Linked DNA regions of Homo sapiens: region 2 is linked to region 1. The links are contacts of gene promoters, found by promoter capture Hi-C in human tissues and cell types (Jung and others, 2019). All regions are on one chromosome and are shown on one strand. Each heading gives the region's core, a stretch centred on a gene start or on the middle of the fragment in contact. The rest is flanking DNA. Distances are from core to core; before and after follow the strand shown. Region 1 holds the start of OR7G2 (olfactory receptor family 7 subfamily G member 2). Region 2 has its middle 8.6 kb from the start of OR7E24.

The links. The method cuts DNA at HindIII sites, captures the fragments that hold promoters and counts their contacts. A contact is called where the count stands out against the background at its distance.
Region 2: a fragment that was not itself captured here is called in contact with the fragment with the promoter of OR7G2 in region 1 in 4 of the 25 tissues and cell types used here (H1 embryonic stem cells, adrenal gland, dorsolateral prefrontal cortex and 1 more).

Annotation. Positions count from the first base shown.
Region 1 is chr19:9,106,067-9,108,766 of GRCh38, forward strand. OR7G2 (olfactory receptor family 7 subfamily G member 2) reads right to left here and starts at 1,409. Exons shown (of 2, transcript NM_001005193.2): 1 at 1,248-1,409. The HindIII fragment of the contact is 11,921 bases long and covers 1-2,700 here.
Region 2 is chr19:9,240,986-9,243,685 of GRCh38, forward strand. It overlaps a transcript of OR7E24 not described here. Among named protein-coding and RNA genes, the nearest start is that of OR7E24, 8.6 kb to the right of the region's middle. The HindIII fragment of the contact is 9,125 bases long and covers 1-2,700 here.

The DNA.
Region 1 (2,700 bases), core at 159-2,658:
TTATTCAGAAAGTACGGAGAATAATGAAGGGCTGGCTACCCATCAGTCAACGATATAAGATTCACACAAGGCCAGGCGTGGTGGCTCAAGCCTATAATCCCAGCACTTTGGGAGGCTGAGGCAGGTGGATCACCTGAGATCAAGAGTTTGAGATCAGCCTGGCCAATATGGCGAAACCCCGTCTTTACTACAAATACAAAAAAATTAGCTGGGTGTGGTGGTGTGGTGCACGCCTGTAACCCCAGCTACTTGGGAGGCTGAGGCAGGAGAATCGCTTGCACCTGAGAGGCAGAGGTTGCAGTAAGCCGAGATCGTGCCACTGCACTCCAGCCTGGGTGACAGAGGGAGACTGTGTCTCAAAAAAAAAAAAAAAAATTCACACAATTCACCATCCTTGATTAGATATTTTTATTGCAAAAAGTAAAAAATATTTTTATTGCAATAAAGTGTGTATTTGAGGCTGGGCATGGTGGCTCATGCCTGTAATCCCAGCATTTTGGGAGGCTGAGGCAGGTGGATCATCTGAGGTCAGGAGTTCAAGACCAGCTGACCAATATGGTGAAACTCCGTCTCTACAGGAGAATCGCTTGAACCTGGGAGGCGGAGGTTGCAGTGAGCCGAGATCATGCCACTGCACTCCAGCCTGGGTGACAGAGCAAGATTCCATCTCAAAAAAAAAAAAAAAAAAGTGCATATTTCAAAACCACCGCTTCATGTTTTTGATTTTTTTTCCCTTCCCTAGGGGAACCAGTACACACACTTGATCTATATTATTCTTCTATACCTTTCATTATATTTGATATTATTCTTCCAAATAATAACAATGGCATTGTGTTGCATTTTAAAAGCTTTATATAGCCAGGCACTGTGGCTCACATCTATAATCCGGGTCCTTTGGGAGGCTGAGGCGGGAGTACAAGAGGCCAGGAGTGTAAGACCAGCCTGGGCAACGTAGTGAGAACCTGTGTCTACAAAAAAAATTTAAAAATTTGCAAAGTGTAATGGCATGCACCTGTAGTCCCAGTTACTCAGTAGGCTGAGGCTGAAGGATTGGTTGATCCAGGAATTCAAGACTGCAGTGAGCTATGATCGAGTCACCACACTCCTTCCAGGCAACAGAGTGAGACCTTGTCTCTAAAAAAACCCCAAAAAACAAAACCACCTGCCCTCATTTCCAAAGCATTAATTAACTAAAGGACTTTGGGTTAACTGATTGGCTTCAACAAAAATGATGCTCAACAACTCACATGGATATTGCAGAGGATGATCTATCCTCAGGAAGTGCAGACAGACTCGAGTCCTGGTCAAAAATATCATGTCTGGAAGGAGGTTCTGATGCAGCTTCCGAGCTGGGTAAGAGATGTTCAGTGAGGTGCTTACAGCCTGACTTGTTGCACTGTCTATATCCCTGGGACCTCAATATCCAACGCTCCTCATTACACTGGCTATTTTACCATCGTTCTGATCCCAGGAGTGCACATCCTTAAAGACCAAGACTAGAGGAGTGAGGAATTCGGGATGGCTGAGTCCCTGTCCCCTGAGGCCACGTGTACACCATCCATATCTCTCCATTGTTTCTGCTCACCTCCACTTCACGAATCTTGCTCCCAGAACACATACCATTCGTCTAGTAAAAAAAAGGATTTTGATCTGAAGAATGTGAGTTCTCTTCATTGTCAGACCCGGAAAGACATTAAAATGAGACAGAAACCACACCCCTCCTCCCCTCCTTTGAACTATGCATTCATCTCATAAAACTGCTTGCTGTTGCCACAAGTAGCTATAAATTAACCTAATAATAGCATATGAATTAAAAAGAAATTATTTAGGCAGTTAGTGAGGGTACAGAAGTCCTGGGTAAGGTTTTTCTTTTTAATAAAAAGCAGCCCCCAAATCATTTCTTTTCAGGCAAAAAGTAGCCTGAAAAATCAAGCTGCAAGCATAGGTAAGCAAGCTGAAAGCCTGCGTAGGTGAATGCCAGCAGCTGTGCCAGAAGACAGGTATAACCAACATGAAGGTTTTCTTTTTTCTTCTTTCTTTCTTTCTTATTCTTTTTTTTTTTTTTTTTTTTTTTTTTTTGAGACAGTCTCACTCTATCACCCAGGCCGGAATGCAGTGGCGCCATCTCAGCTCACTGCAACCTCTGCCTCTGGGTTCAAGTGATTCTTGTGCCTCAGCCTCCAGAGTAGCTGGGATTACAGGCGAGTGCCACCACACCTGGCTAATTTTTGTATTTTTAGTAGAGATGAGATTTGATGCTGGGCGTGGTGGCTTATGCATGTAATCCCAGCACTTTGGGAGGCTGAGGTGGGTGGATAACCTGAGGTCAGGAGTTTGAGACCAGCCTGGCCAATATGGTGAAACCTTGTCTGTACTAAAAATACAAAAATTAGCCAGGCGTGGTGACAGGCACCTGTAGTCCCAGCTACTCGGGAGGCTGAGGCAGGAGAATCGCTTGAACCCAGGAGGTGGAGGTTGCAGTGAGCTGAGATCGTGTCCCTACACTCCAGCCTGGGTGACAGAGCAAGACTCCATCTCAAAAAAAAAAACAAAAACAAAAACAAAAAACCCTTAACCTGTAAGCCATCTGCAAGTTTGGGTCTTACATGTAAACTAGCTGGGCACAGTGGCTCACGCCTGTAATCCCAGCACTTTGGGAGGCTGAGGCAGGCGGATCACGAGGTCAAGAGTTCAAGACCA
Region 2 (2,700 bases), core at 15-2,514, 130 kb after region 1:
TTTTGTATTTTTGATGGAGATGGGGTTTCACATGTTAGTCAGGCCGGTCTTGAACTCCTGACCTCAAGTGATCCACCCGCCTCGGCCACCCAAATGCTGGGATTACAGGCATGAGCCATTGCGCCAGGCCTGTTGATCTGTTTTTTATTTGATTTGATTTTTGTACATGGCAGAAAGTAGGGTTCAATCTACTTTCCTTTGCATCGAGTTTGTTCTTGGAAGGGTTTAGTTTGTTGTGCTGTGAAACACCTTATTAATAACATCCACTTGGCAGCAGAATGTGTTAGCCTAGGGTTCAATCTGTCTAAGTGGTGGTTGTCAGAGAGATCATTGGGTTTATAAAAAGGTCACAAAGGCAAGATTATGTTTGACAGAGCCCTGCTCATGAACATTCAGTTCCTCAGCAGACCAGCCTCTTGTCCATGACAGATCAAGGTCTCAGAACTAAGTGGATGTTGTAGGTCCATTAGGCAAATGTGAATTTAAATATCCCGGCTCGACCAGGCTTGGTGGCTCATGCTTGTAATCCCAGCACTTTGGGGGCTGAGGTGGGTGGATCACTTGAGGTCACGAGTTCAAGACCAGCCTGGCCAATGTGGTGAAACCCCATCTCTGCTAAAAATGCAAAATTAGCTGGGTGTGGTGGTGGGTGCCTGTAATCTCAGCTACTTGGGAGACTGAGGCAGGAGAATTGCTTGAATCTGGGAGGTAGAGGTTGCAGTGAGCTGAGATTGCGCCATTGCATTCCAGCCTGGGCGACAGAGTGAGACTTTGTCTCAAAAACAACAACTACAAAACTAAAAGAAAACAAGAAATAAATATCCTGGCTCTTTTTCTCCTGAAAATCACATGCTTCATTTTTACTCTTCCCAAAACACTTGTGATTTGGCTTTTGCTACATGTTTTTACTTTAGGTTCTCTCAGTAACTCCCTTGGTAATTTCCTTCTAACTTTTCCGTTTTATATACAGTCTTTAAAGTTCCATCTTTGGTCCATTTTCTTAGAGCCACTCTTGAGAGTTCTCACGTGTTGTTTGAAACACTTATCATATCGAGTGCTGATATGATGACATGCTTTCCTCAAAAATTACCCATTTGCATGTTAGCACCCTTCACCTAAACTTGGTTGTGTTCTTGTTTCCTCTGGAAGAAATTGGATGAAAATCATACAATAGTCAAGGCAACGTGTTTCCCTTTTAGGATTGTGCTTGTTGCTTTACATGTATGGCTTTATTTAATCCTGAAAACATTTCTTTCTTTTTGTTTTTGTTTTGTTTTGTTTTGAGACACAGTTTCACTCTGTCACCCAGGCTGGAGTGCCATGGCGCTATCTCAGCCCACGGCAACCACCTCCCGGGTTCAAGCAATTCTTGTGTCTCAGCCTCCCAAGTAGCTGGAATTATAAGTGTGCACCACCACACCTGGCTAATTTTTTTTGTATTTTTAGTAGAGATGGGGTTTTGCCATGTTGGCCAGGCTGATCTCAAACTCCTGACCTCAAGTGATCCACCTGCCTCGGCCTCCCAAAGTGCTGGGATTATAGGCATGAGCCACCACAGTTGGCCCTGAAAACATTTCTTTGACATGTCTTTTCTCATTCACCTTGTTCCACAAAGGAAGAAGCAGATAGAGGTGAACTATAACCTGGCAACTTGACGTTGAGACCACACTCCAACTTTGCTATCCTTTATTTCATAAGAACAGTGATGTGATTTTTCACATCAAATTAGGAATGTAGATTTGTAAGCTTGTTTGTTCTGATGATTCATAGTAATGAACTGCCTAGAATAACTGAGACGTTGCTTCCTTCTTTGTGATTATTCCTTTTCTTCCCTCCCTCCCTCCTTTTTTACTTTCTTCCTTTCCTCTTCTTTCTTCCCTCATTCCCTCCTCTTTCTTCCCTCATTCCCTCCTCTTTCTTCTCTCATTCCCTCCTTCCTTCTTGTCTTTCTTTCTTTCCTTCTTTATTTGACCTTTATTTCCCATAATTGCAGTTTTATGATCTAACCCCAGATTGTAGAACATGTAATAATTATACGATAGAAAAGATTTGTTCTCTCATATAGTTTAATTTTCTTCTGAGACTTTCTGGAGATGTCTTCAGGAATGGAAGCCACAGAATGTGGACTGTGTTTGGGATGCAGTTCACCCTTTTGATGAGAACTGGTAGAACTGGGTCTGCAGTGAAGGATGGGGTAGTAGATGGTGTCAGGGTTCATCCCACATCCCTAAGACCCTCCCGCCATCTCCACACACACCATCCTGTCTGCCAATGGTCAGCATCAGCTGAGGGATCCACTTTCCCCAATGCATGGTGGCAGAAAGGTAATGAATGCTTACAATTTTATGTTGCTCTGGCATTTTTTTTTTTTTTTTTGAGCCAGTGTCTCACAGTATTGTGCAGGCTGGAGTACAGTGGCTCACTGAAATCTTGAACTCCTGGGCTCAAGTGATCCTCCTCAGTCTCCCAAGTAGCTGGGACTACAGGCATGCATCATCACACCCAGTTAGGGGGTCTCTCTATGTGACTCAGGCTTGTCTTGAAATCCTGGCCTCAAACCAGGATTGGCCACCTTGGCTTCCTGAAGCACTGGGATTGTAGGTGTGAACCACTGCACCTGGCAGGCATCTATTTTGAATACAGGCTTAGCTTTCTGATGCTAGAGGCAGGGTTCCATTGCCTTTGACACAGTTTCCAATT